Linked DNA regions of Homo sapiens: all the other regions are linked to region 1. Evidence: promoter capture Hi-C in 16 types of primary human blood cells and fetal thymus (Javierre and others, 2016). All regions are on one chromosome and are shown on one strand. The core of a region is centred on a gene start or on the middle of the fragment in contact, and the rest is flanking DNA. Distances in the headings are between cores, read along the strand shown. Region 1 holds the start of STAT4 (signal transducer and activator of transcription 4). Region 2 overlaps LOC107985833 (a long non-coding RNA gene). Region 3 has its middle 180 kb from the start of NABP1.

Evidence for each region. Contacts are between HindIII fragments. The CHiCAGO score rates a contact against its expected background, and 5 or more counts as called.
Region 2: a contact is called between a fragment that was not itself captured here and the fragment with the promoter of STAT4 in region 1, in 1 of 17 cell types (M2 macrophages). The highest score is 5.3, in M2 macrophages.
Region 3: a fragment that was not itself captured here is called in contact with the fragment with the promoter of STAT4 in region 1 in 3 of 17 cell types (M2 macrophages, M1 macrophages and M0 macrophages); the score reaches 8.5 in M2 macrophages.

Annotation. Positions count from the first base shown.
Region 1 is chr2:191,148,978-191,153,345 of GRCh38, forward strand. STAT4 (signal transducer and activator of transcription 4) reads right to left here and starts at 2,017. Exons shown (of 24, transcript NM_003151.4): 1 at 1,970-2,017. RefSeq lists a silencer at 1,657-1,706 and enhancers at 2,177-2,226, 2,357-2,436. The HindIII fragment of the contact is 5,548 bases long and covers 1,895-4,368 here.
Region 2 is chr2:191,540,715-191,545,082 of GRCh38, forward strand. All of the region lies in intron 2 of LOC107985833 (a long non-coding RNA gene), which reads left to right. Among named protein-coding and RNA genes, the nearest start is that of NABP1, 140 kb to the right of the region's middle. RefSeq lists a silencer at 846-1,008. The HindIII fragment of the contact is 9,670 bases long and covers 1-4,368 here.
Region 3 is chr2:191,500,234-191,504,601 of GRCh38, forward strand. No RefSeq gene overlaps it. Among named protein-coding and RNA genes, the nearest start is that of NABP1, 180 kb to the right of the region's middle. The HindIII fragment of the contact is 1,721 bases long and covers 1,661-3,381 here.

The DNA of each region.
Region 1 (4,368 bases), core at 767-3,266:
GCCTGTCATAAAAGAAAAGTACGCATTTCCCCCTTGTAACCCCACTCTGGCCAATTTAGAAGCTGTAGACATATTTCCTAACTCAGGAAAATTAGTATGACGCTGCCTCCTTGAAATTACAGCATTTTATGTTTTCCAAAGTCAAATTTTTGGTTGTTTTCTCAGCAATTCTAAGTCAAGTAAAAACACCAAACCCCCTTTTACATGATTAATCACCATAACATTTCAACATATCTCATAGATAGGCTAAGGTTTCCTTTTGCCTATAGAACACCAGGGTAATTTCATATATTTCATATACATATTCTTTGGGTTTTAAGTAGAATCATTTTGAGCACCTTTTCCCTGAGCTCCTGGTAAATGACTTAAAATTTATAAAAAAACGTGTTGCCAATGTTTTGCTAAAGAGAAAGCAAGTGGGAAAAGAAGTAATGTTTTATTTGCATATCATTTTATATTTATGAAAACCTTTACACTTTACAATTCTAGGCATATTGTAAATGCTCAATCAATGCTTGTTAAATGAAGAATGAGTGGCACTCCTGACATTGCTATGAATATGGTAGGTGGATATAAGTAGTATGTCAACTTTAAAAAGGAAAAACTTGAAGATCAAATAGGCGAAATGACGCCTGCCTAATGTGTGAGGCTTCTAAGGGACAACCTGAGGTTTCCTGAGTCTGAACCATTTGTTTTTCCAGATATCGGATGTATATATATTCCATCGGATGTGTATATATTCCACACAAAATTGGAACATTTGTTCTCATGCTACTATCAACATTGTCCTATCTATCAATTTATTTTAGTTAATGACAACAGAGAACATGAGTTGAAAATAGCATTACAGTTTTTCATCATACTATTGTTAAACCCCCGCTATGATTTGGATGAAAAATCTATTTTCTAACTAAAACTTACAGGTAGATGGGAGGAATAAGTTCTAGTGCTGTAACACTAGGATGAATATGGTTAACAATAACTTAGTGTATATTTTCAAAAAGCTAAGAGGATTTTGAATGTTCACAACACAAAGTAATGATAAATGTTTGAGGTGATGGATATGCTGAATATCCTTTGATCATAACACATTGTTCATATTTATTGAAATATCACTGTATATTCCATAAATATTTACAATTGTGTGTCAAATGAAAATAAAAGGAAAATTAAAAAAAATAAAAATAAACACCGAAAAAAATCACTACTAAGATCTGAGTCTTTCGGAGAGCTGAATTCAAAGCTGAAAAAAGGAAGAAGAAGGAATACATAGTCCTAGGACATTTTCTATTGCAGCCTCTGGGAACGCCTTTAGACATCCTTCAGCAGGTTTCTTTGCTTTCACTCTCTAGGGGCTACTTCTTTCTCATGAAAACTGTGACGTTGCTTCTGAAAACTCAGTGCCTGTCTGTCCTTTTTGCGTGCATTTCCTAGAAGATCCCACTAAAGGGGCATTTTGTCCCACCGTCTGTGAGCTGGTGGTGCCGCTTTGGCTCTGTGGCCTGTAGCTTGCAAAAGGAGATGACCTGCCCTAAAATGTCACTCGCGCCCATCAAAGCCACAGTCACCGGCTGCCGTAGCTGCAAGCTTTTTTCTGAAATCCAGGTACGCTAATCTAAAGTCAGACATCACAGCTCTAGAGAAGCTGGCTAAGAAAGTGAAGAGGGGCTCACTTTCAGCCTCCGCGAGGACACACCTCCGCAGCCGCCGCAGCTCCCCTGGCCCCCGCAGGGAGATTCGCCCGGGCACCGTGGCGCGGGCCTGCGGAGCGGTTTCCGCGGAGAACCCGTGCCAGGGCGCATCTGTGGGTCGTGGAGTCGGGCGCTTCCTTCTATAATAAGCCTCCTCAGGAAGGTTAAAATGAAGCAATTGTCAAAACGCCAAGGGAAAGCAAAGCTTCAGAGTATCCTGCATAATAAGCATGTCCTCCTTACAAGAGGCAGCCAGAAGGTGTGGTCTGGCCACTTACCTAGCGCTCTCTCAGCACAGGTCCCAGGCAGTGCTCAAGTCCAAAGTCAGAAGCGCCCCTCACAGTCCCTAGGAGAAAGCCGCTGACGCCATCATCAGTAGGGGATTTGCATTTCTCCTCCCACTTGAGGCTTTCCTGTGCGTCAGTGTTCGAGTCTCTGGGACTTTACTTGGGTCAGTTCCCACCCACTCTATTCTAGAAATGCTAACACGCAGAAACTGCCAGGCTGGAGCCCCTTCACCGGGCGTCCTCTTCCCTCTTATCCCTCCCAGCGGCTCTCGCAACTGCAGGTGGCTCAGCAGTGCCAGGAAAAAGGGGAGGGGCGGGGCATACATTTTCTTCAGTGGTTTCCTTAGACAATCTGAGATCCTCTGCAGAGTTACTTACCTGGAGCCCAGTTCTTCAGCTTCCTCTCTCCCTAGTATAAGGCTCCACTCAGCCTGGTGAACCACCCCTGGGATGGAAGGGATGGGTAGCCAGGATCAAAACACCAAACTCATAGACCTTACTGGGCTCCAATTCCAGCGGGGTCCGCTCACTCCGACGAGGGTGACCTGACCCAGAGGGTTGGGCCAAGTCCTGGGTAGGCCACCAGTGCTTGCCCTTCCTGACCTAGCCTCCTCCTACTCTCCTTGAGTAGCCTTGCCCCTGGTTGCTACGGTGCGTTCTTCTCCCTTTGTGACATCAGCCTGTTCTAGAATCACAGAGTTGGAGGAAGTCTTGGTCCCATCTAATGCTAAATCCTCTTTCATATCTGAAGAGACCCAGTGAGGTGACCAAGAGGACTCAATAAGTTAGCCACGGAGCCCGATAATAGCCCAGGTGTTTCCCTTCCCACTTCAGTGGTCTTTTCATTTCATCTCCTTGTAGTTAGCTCTTAACCCCTTGATTCACAGTAGGGGTTCAATAAAATAAAGAGAAGTCCAGGCGTGTGGCTCACACCTGTAATCCTAGCACTTTGGGAGGCTGAAGTGGAAGGACTCCTTGAGCCCAGGAGTTTGAGACCAGCCCAGGCAACACAGTAAAATCCCACCGTATATTAAAAAATCAATAAAAATGTTTAAGAAAGTAAAAATAGTAAAACAAAGACAAAAATAAAGACAGACAGACAGACTGAAAGAAAGGTAGAAAGTGTCACTCAATTTGGTTATACACATGCTTAGAGCAATATACCAAGGTGAAAGGCCTGCCTCCCTCTTCCCTGACGGGTTTCACACAGGTACACCCTCTGGATTCTTCTCTCCCAGGTGACATTATCATGTGCTTAAACTTACCACCCACCCCCAAATAGGTCAATCAATCCAAAGTCACACTTTCCATATCACTGTAAATTTCCTGGTTAGGTAGGCCTGGTCCCCACTGCTTGTTGAGCAGGCAGTTTCCAGGAGCTTATGCTGCTCTGACCCTACATAAGAAAGTGCCAATTTCAGGCTATTCCATAAGCTACTAAGCAAAGTCTGATTTTCTTCTGGAGAAGCTGTCACTGCCTATAGGAAAAAAATCCAAATTCTTGGCAGTTTAAGTTCTGTACAGTTTGGTCCCAACCTATCCAGGAAACTTTTCTCCCCTATAAGAGCCCATGATGTGACCCAAGCAGTCACCTCAGCTGCCCAGATTAACCTCATATTTCACTACCGAGGCTTTCTTCAACTGGATATTCCTCCCTGAGCCTACCTACTTAGTGAAATCCTATAGTTCTCAGTGAAGACTTCCCGATGACCTGAACCCACAGCAATGTTTCCCTGCTCCAAATTCTTCATACTTCCTGTCCAAACCAGCGCTCTCCAAGAGAAATAAAATGTAAGCCACATATGTAATTGTAAATTTTCTCATAGCCATATTAAAAAGGAAAAAAGCACAGGTGAAATTAATTTTAATATTGTAAATAACCCAATATATACAAGAATCTTAACATTTTGGCATATAATCAATATAAAAAATTATCAATAAGATACTTTGCATTCCTTATTTCATACTCAATCTCTGAAGTCTGGTGTATATTTAGCACTTACAGGGCATGTCAGTTAGGACTAGCCACATTCCAAGCCACATATGGCTAGTGGCTGCCGTGTTGGACAGTGCACATCTAGACCACTTATTTAGCACTTTTCACTTCCTGCCTCATAGTGTTAGTCACACTGGTTTTACATGTCCTTATCATTATCATATTCAATTGTTGAGTGCCTGCTGTACAAAACAGAGTTTGTTCTCCTCCTCCTTTTCAGGGCCTTACCTTGCGGCTTCCACAGCAGTTTTTAAACCTTTTGTTCTCAAGATACCATTATTCCCTTAAAAATTGTTGACAAACCCAAGGAATGTTTGTGTATTACTGTTCTGGATGAAATTTTTATTTACTGTGTTAAAACTTAAATCTGAGAAAAAATTAAAATATGTATTTA
Region 2 (4,368 bases), core at 608-3,107, 390 kb after region 1:
AATGAATCTGTCTAGTGCCTCATGTGTTTTGGATATAATCTGAGGACTCCCCAACATATAGAGAAATTCCTGCAATTCTCAGCTTAAATTCTTCCTCCTTCCCTGATCTCCAGGCATGGGTAGCTAGGGTCTCCGCTGCCATCCCACAGCACTGTGGGTGGCTGAGGGCCAGGGAATAGGTGTGAAGTGGTTTCACTATAAAGCACAGCCTGCCTCAGCCTACAGGGGCAGCTGATAGTGCTACACAGAACATGTCTCTGTGACTTTGGAGACTTATCCTCAATTTGGAAATTGCACTTCTGACTAAGAAGACTGAGCAGAATATAGGAAGAACCCCCACGCCAAAAACAAAACAAAACAAAACAAAAACAAAAACAAAAAAACCCCAAAACCAAAAAAAAAAAAACAAAACAAAAAACAAAAAACTCGAAGTGCTAAGCTCTAAACCCCTGGACATATAAAAATCCACAATAAGTGATAAGCACAGGGCATTTATGACGGGCATTAGAGGAAAGCGAATACAGTTGATGAAGACTGTAGATAAAATCTGAACTGTGAGCACCTGCAGACACAGAGAATATGCTGCAGTGACTAAAGAGGGGTCTGATACAAGGAAATGATCTCCAAGTGCCCACTGGTGAGGGACCAGAGCAGCAGCCTTGCTCCTAACGTGCAGGGTCCAGGGCAAGAGAACAACGGGCGGCCCACGTACCATATGACTACATGTTACAAAATCAGTATCAGGTCTACAACTTGGTAGATAAAATATGCTCTAACTCCCCACCTTGACACATGTAATTTTATTTTATCTTATTTTATTTTATTTTATTTGAGATGGAGTCTCGCTCTGTTGCCCAGGCTGGAGTGCAGTGGTGTGATCTCAGCTCACTGCAACCTCTGCCTCCTGGGTTCAAGTGATTCTCCTGCCTCAGCCTCCTGAGTAGCTGGGACTACAGGTGCATGCCACCACGCCTAGCTAATTTTTGTATCTTTAATAGAGACAGGGTTTCGCCATGTTGGCCAGGCTGGTCTTGAACTCCTGACCTCAGGTGATCTGCCAGCCTCAGCCTCCCAAAGTGCTGGGATTACAGGCATGAGCCACCACGCCTGGCCAGACACATGTAATTTTAGAAAGTCCTGGAAGGTCAGGTTCAAATCACGACCTCTCATATTCCTCAGGCCTAAAACCTACTCTTTTTCTTATCCCTCCAGGCTTCCTCCTGTACAGAGAATGCTGACCAGTAAACAAAGTGTAGATCTGTTGCTCAATGGGTTCCCCAATATTTTCTTACTTGAATTACTCTTTCTCATCCCCATCAAGCAGGCTGGAGGCCCACAAAATATCCAAGTAGGAGGCAGCAAAATGAGGGCTGCTTCCAAAGGCTGAAAAGTGCAGTGCTGAGCATGACTGGGTCTTTTTCCCAAGTTCATTCGTGAGATCCACTACTCCTTTGCAGCAGTAAGTGCAGGGGGCAGGACCTGACCTGGGGGGTGGAAATTTTTTCCCCTCTCTGGAAATTCCAGCAGTGATCTTTAAGTCATATCTTACTAAAATACTTGGAAGAAACTTTGAAAGCAATAGTTACCTGGTCAGGCACAGTGGCTCACTCCTGTAATCCCAACACTTTGGGAGGCTGAGGCGGGTGGATCACCTGAAGTCAGGAGTTTGAGACCAGCCTGGGCAACGTGGTGAAACCCCGTCTCTACTAAAAATACAGAAGTTAGCCAGGTGTGGTGGTGCGCACCTGTAATCCCAGCTGCTCATTAGGCTAACAGCAGGAGAATTGCTTGAACCTGGGAGGCGAAGGTTGCAGTGAGCTGAGATGTTGCCACTGCCCTCCAGCCTGGGCAACAGAGCGAGACTCCATCCCAAAAATAAAATAAAATGAAAGCAATAGTTACCTAATGTCTTTAAGAACCATATGTAGCTCAGTCTGCATATTTTTGTCCTGCAACTGCAAGCAAAATATTTAAAAAATAACAATCTCTTTCTAATGGTTTGTGCTCCATAATAATATGATTTCAGGTCCTTTTTCCAGCCATGACACTCTCCTTCTGCCTGCTTCCATCGAAGGCTTTATACTATTTTTACAGCAACTTGCAGTCTACCACTTGCTTCAGCTCTTCCATGGCATGTCATCAACTGATAGACTAATGAGAAATTACTGTAATTACAACTATAGACTCATTACATAGGTCTCTCTTTTTTTTTTTTTTTGAGACAGGGTCTCACTCTGTTGCCCCATGTGGGGTGCAGTGGTGAGATCATGGCTCACTGCAGCCTCGACCTCCTGGGCTCAGGTGATCCTCCCACCTTAGTCTCCTGAGTAGCCAAGACTACAGGCACCTGCGACCACACTTGGCTATTTTTTTGTATTTTTTGCAGAGACAGGGTTTCATCATGTGGCCCAGGTTGGTCTCAAACTCCTGGGCTCAAGCAGTCCACCCACCTCAGCCTCCCAAAGAGCTAGGTAGGATTACAGGTGTGAGCCACCACACCTGGCCTACATAGATTTTAATCATTAAACTACATATAGCAAAGGGTACCGAAATAAGACATAAAATAGAAAACTTGCTTTTCTTCATTTTGAGTTGATTACTTATTGCTTTTCATGAAACTCTAGAGGCCAGCAGTTTCCTCCTACTTCTCTTGAGATCAAATTATCTCTCTGATTAGGAAACTCAGTGTGATAGATAAAATATCTTTTCATGACATTTATTTTTTTAGAAAGTACCTTGTAAATTAAAGGCCCCTCTTCCTAGGTGCTCACCCTTTGTGCTTTGCTAGCTTGATTGACATTTACGCTTTTACAGCTATTCAGTATTTCTCGTTATTTTGCCCAGGACCTACAGTGTCCTGAGAAGAAACCAGTAATTTAGAAGGTAAGCATTCAAGATAAAGTATTATTGCCAAATTGTAAAAAGTTGGGATGCATTTCTACTTTTTTTTTTAACATCAAAAAAGGGCCTGAAAGAAGTAAATTTCCCTTCCAAAATTGACACATAAATCTGTTTTTGCTTTTGCTCAAAATGATGAAATAATCTAGAGAAGGCAAAAATAAATAAGTTCTCACAGTGGCAATACTCGAGGTCATTGTAGAGATCTGAAGTCATTGTTGCTTTAACCTTGGCTTGGGGCATTAGTGTGACTCTTAGCTAAGCCATAAGATTCCCAGCTCTTTTATTCCTCAGATATTTAGCAATTTTACACCTCATGCAAATATGTACCCTGGAGGAAAGTTGCTCTCCAGTAAATGTTCCTTTACAGTATTGGATTTGGCTTTGGCTCCTGTGGAGCAGTTTTTACCAGCTTTACAAACAGATCACAACTCTTTAAGCTCATGCTGCAGGCTTTTTTTCGTATTTGTGATGCCTGCCTGCTTTGCCTAACCAAAACACGCCACTCAGCCCCTCAGTCGCATCCACCCACCCGCCACGTTCTTGCCTTCACAGGGTCACCAGCAGCTGAAGAGTTTGGGTTCAGCTATTGGCATTGTGCAGTGAAAACTGACTTGAACTGAAGACTCAGCCTTGTTGGTTAGGCTTTAAGAGATATATGAAAGTCAGGAATTCTGCTTTATTTGCTTTACATTATGAGGGATTTCTACTTAGAAGACCAAGATGAAAATAGGTCAGTTTGTGGAAGTAAGATTTTCTCATACGCTGGCTTCAGAAGAAACTAGGTTTTCATGAATGCTGAAGCTCGTCTTTTGCAGTGGGCGGTGTTGTTCTTTTCCGCTCCTCATTTCTTCTTTGTTCTTTTTGTTTATGCCTCTACCCCTCTTGTTTCCTGGATGGAACTTCCTCTCTCCAGGAGGAAAAATGAAGAGGCACTTATTACCTGAATTCTTACTAGCTGTGTGACTTTGGGCAAGATACTCAACCTGTCCAAGTGTCAGATTTCTTATGTGTAGAATAAATGTAATGATGTAGTTTATGAGGAGATGATGAGCATTAAGTATAATGCTTGTAAAGCACTTGGCATAGGGCCCAGCACTTGGTAAACAGCTAATAAATAGTAGCTTTTAGCATAATGAAAATGGTAGTATAAGCCAGTGAGATATTAGTTTACTCACTTGCTATTTAGCTGGTAGTTACCTGGTACAGGTGTCATGGAAATTCTTAGGAAATTGGCCATTCTGCCTGAGGGGGTTGGTCTCATTGGCTGAGGGAGGTAGTCATAGCTCAGGCCTGTGAGTCTTGTCTCCTAAAGGTAGTTTGTAGTTTTCTATTGGAGAATTGCCTTCAGCAGCTTCCTTAGCTGAAGCCCAGTCCTTTGGGCCTGCTGAGGAAGAAGACCTCAGCTGACTACCCCTCATGGTGCTATCTTCCCTCACTTTTCAATTTTACCTCTGAAGTAATGGTTCT
Region 3 (4,368 bases), core at 1,271-3,770, 350 kb after region 1:
AAAGCAGTCTCAGGCAATTGGCAAGTAGTAAGTATTGGGACTAAGAAGTATTTGGAGCCCTTGTGCTGGCAAGCCAATTGCATTGAGGCAGCCCCAGTCCCACTCAATTCTTGCTCACATTCCCCATGCCTTTTGGCATCATGCCTCATCACTACTGCTCCCCTAAGTGCTTCCAGATGCCCTCCATCAGGGGCTTCTCAGACTGAGAGCATTAGACTGCTGCCTCGCTACCAACGCTACTCAGAACCACAGTGTATTATATAAGACAGAGAAAAGCAGAGCTGCCCTGTGGGGTTAAGGGGCGGGGGCAGAGTAGATATGAGGCTGGGTATCCAAACCCCAGTGCAGCTCCAGGGAAGCCCCATTTGAAAATAGCTGCATAAGGCTAGTGATTAGAAACCCCAGCTCTAAAGCACAGGGAGGAAGAGGAGGATTGTAATCTGGAGAGGGTCAAGCTCTTCTAGGCAAGGCCAACCAGCTATTGTGAGTAAAGTAACTGTGTGTGTGTGTGTGTGTGAGTGAAGCAGGTGATATCGAACTGCTGGAGCTCCCCCTGCATTGCCAGAGCAGTTTTTTTTAGATATGTCCTCCAGACCCTTAGGGCTCCTCAGGGCACAATTTGAAAATCACAGACTTGTCTAGTCTCTTTTAATCCTGATACTCTGCAGACTGTTATCATCCCCACACAACGAAAGGTGAACCTGAGGCCAAAGCCCCACAGGTAGGAAGTGGCTGAGTCAGGAATGCTCCTTCCAAAGACAACTTTATTATCCTTCAGTAGAGACGCATACACTGCAGCAGCTTGAAGTAGGGAGGCTTCTGGAAACTGTGGGGATGAACCAAAAAGGAATCCTTTCCCATGCTGGGGAAGCCCACTCTGGCACAGAAACAAAGCAAATTATAGCTGTTGCGGAAACAGGCCAAACACGGCTGGCTGAGCCAGAAGTGGGGTTATTGCTCATCTCCTGGGATCCCATTGTGTGTAGGTCTCTTGTCCTCCCCACACCAAGCTCCGGGTCTCCTCACCCCCGTGCCAGCTGGGAGGCCCATAGGCTGCCAGGCATCTTGTAGAAACACACCAGAGCAGCCGCAGCTTCAGCTCTTCCCTCCCTGCCTTCCCTCCTGCCCCAGGGTGAAGGAGAGGGGGCTGGCCATGGGAGAGACCAGAAAACGAAGGGGAGAAATGGAAGCTGGTTTCCACAGAAAGAGATGGTTGGTGGGACCCGTGTCATATGTCAAGTTGGAGGAGCAAAGGCCAGTTGGGAGATGGCTGTGGCCTTTGTTGAAAGGTCTGCCTGGGAGCCAAGTTTCAATTTCTGGCTCCCTTTAGACAGGACCGGTTTCTCTAATAGCTCATTGAAAGGTGAGAGAAAAAGGAAAGAGCACACAAACTGACCCCTTTAAAAATATGGCAAAACCTAAAATGTCTTTGGAAATTTCAAGAAGTCCTTGAACAGAATCATAGTTTCTTTTTTTTTTTTCTTTCCCTGAGGAAATTCAGCATGGACCTGTCTCCCTCTTGTGGAATTAATTTTGCCTCTTGGTTGTACAGTGTTTAGTAAAATAAGAGGAAAACTTATGGGGACTTCCTGTTACCTTGTTTCTCCATTGTCTTTCTTTGTGCAAGAAAAGACAGCAGTATTGTAATTATCAAAGAAAAAGCTTTAATTTTCTGAAATGAACAAGCATTTAGAAATAAACTTTTAATCTAACACTTTATAGTAACAAAATTCTGCCTGTAAAATCTAGTGCTTAAAGATTTAGTTTTACTTAATTCTTCAACGTTAGACAGAATATCGTCTCCATTTTATGGTTAAGTGTCAACAAAAAGAGTCAAATTCTGTAAAATATTTGAAGACATTTATTCTGAGTCAAATATGAGTGGCCATGGCCCATGACACAGCCCTCAGGAGGTCCTGAGAACATGTGCCCAAGGTGGTCGGGGTGCAGCTTGGGTTCCATACATTTTTTGGGAGGCAAGAGACTTCAATCAAACACATTTAAGAAATACACTGGTTTGGTCCAGAAAGGCGGAACAACTCAAAGGTGGTGAGGGTTGGGGGGGCGGTCCAGTTTATAGGTAGATTTTAAAATTTTCTGGTTGACAATTGGTTGAGCTTATCTAGACCTGGGATCAACAGAAAGGAAATGTCTGGGTTGTAATAAGAGGTTGTGGAGATCAAAGTTTTATCATGCAGATGAAGCCTCCAGGTAGCCGGCTTCAGAGAGAATGAATTGTAAGTGCTTTTTTTGTTTTTTTGGTTTTTTTTTTGAGATGGAGTCTCGGAGTCTCACTCTGCTGCCCAGGTTGGAGTGCAGTGGCCCGATCTGGGCTCAACGCAACCTCTGCCTCCCAGGTCCTGCCTCAGCCTCCCGAGTAGCTGGGACTACAGGAGAAAGCCACCATGCCCGGCTAATTTTTTTTTGTATTTTTAGTAGAGACGAGGTTTCACTATGTTGGCCAGGTTGGTCTCGAGTGCCTGACCTCATGATCTGCCTGCCTCAGCCTCCCAAAGTGCTGGGATGACAGGTGTGAGCCACCGTGCCTGGCCTGTAAATGCTTCTTATCAGACTTAAGGTCTACATTGATGTCGATGCCAGTGAGCTATAATGAATGCTGTCCAACCCTCACTTCCTGTCCTGGCCTAAACCAGTCTCTCAGGTTAAATTTTAAGAGCACCGTGGCCAAGAAGGAAGTCCATTCAGATGGTTGGGGGGACTTAGAATTTTATTTTTGGTTTACATAAGGAAGGTAAAAGAAGGACCATGACAAAACTAAATTTATTTTTCTTTAGCCAAACTCCAAAGTTCTTTGCAGAATTGTTAGCAACAATGACACAAGACAACAACAGCTTGTTACAAAAGGTAGCTAGTCGGGCATCAGCAGGGCAGGAGAGGGCATCTCCCACTCACCAGGAATGTCAGGTGACCATTGGATGATGGTCAGGCAGTTGTCACAGTACCTCTCTAATATAATAATTGGTTGCAGCCAGCGCCAGGGAGAGGCAGTTTCCCAGTACATAAAAACCCCTGAAACTGGTAATGGGCAGCTTTCAGAAATTGGGCACGTGGTCTCGAGCATGCACGTTAAGAGGCAAAATGGTGGAGTATGACCTTCCCGGCATTCCACTGGAAAAGGGAGGAAAGCCTCAGGTGAGCATGCATACAACTCCAGTAAACACACCACGCGCTCACCTCCTAGGCACCAGTAGGCTACCTCGCATGTGGGTGGCTCACCTTAAGGGAAGAATCAAGGGAAAAAGGGATCACAACACCGGAAGTGAAATGCATATGAAATGCTAGGTTCAAGATCAAATGGGTCAGTTGACCTCCAAGTTGCCACTTGAGTCTCTTCCAAGTGTACTTTCCTTTCTTCTCTAAAGCTTTTCAGTAAACTTCCGCTCCTGCTCTGAAACTTGCTTCAGTCTCTTTTTCTGCCTTATGCCCCTCAGTTGAATTCTTTCTTTTGAGGAGGCAAGAATTGAGGTTGCTACAGACCCATAGGGATTTGCCACCTGTAACTCAGATAACTTCCACCAGTAACAAGCTGATATTTATTAGCATTTGCTTTTCGCAAAGCATTAGGCCAAGCACTTCACCTAAATTATTGATGTGGCTCTGATGAGTGGAGGAACACCAGGGCTCTTGTCTCACATCAAATTAGATAAGACACAAACACACGTGGAGTGGTTTTAAGGAGCGGAGAATTTAATAGGCAAGAAGGAGTAAGAAGGAAGGGAGAAGGAAAAAGCTCCCCTGTACAGAGACAGAGGGAGGGGGACTCCAAAGCCAAGAGAGGGAACCCCACTTGCCACGGAAACCAACCAGGTATATGAAGAGGCTGGAGGAGGCGATGTTTGATTTGCGTAGGGCTCAGGGGGTTGGTTTGACAAGGCATGTCATTCACATAGCCCGTGAAAAAAATGGCCCTCGTACCCTAGCCTTTTAATATGCAAATGCAGGGCACCATGATGTTCTACACATGTGGGGATAGATGGGGGCAGCCATGTTTCCAGGCACATGTGGGGCAAGGGCAAGAAGGCTGCAGGAATCACCATGTTGGGTGGACTCAGTTTCTAACGGCTGGCATTTGCTTATTAAAGGTTGCCAGACTGGCCATGTTGGGTGGACCCAGTTTCTTTTTTTTTTTTTGAGACGGAGTCTCGTTCTTGCCCAGGCTGGAGTTCAGTGGCACGATATCGGCTCACTGCAAGCTCCACCTCCCAGGTTCACGCCATTCTCCTGCCTCAGCCTCCCCAGTAGCTGGGACTACAGGCACCTGCCACGACGCCTGGCTAATTTTTTCTATTTTTTAACAGAGATGGGGTTTCACCATGTTAGCCAGGATGGTCTAGATCTCCTGACCTT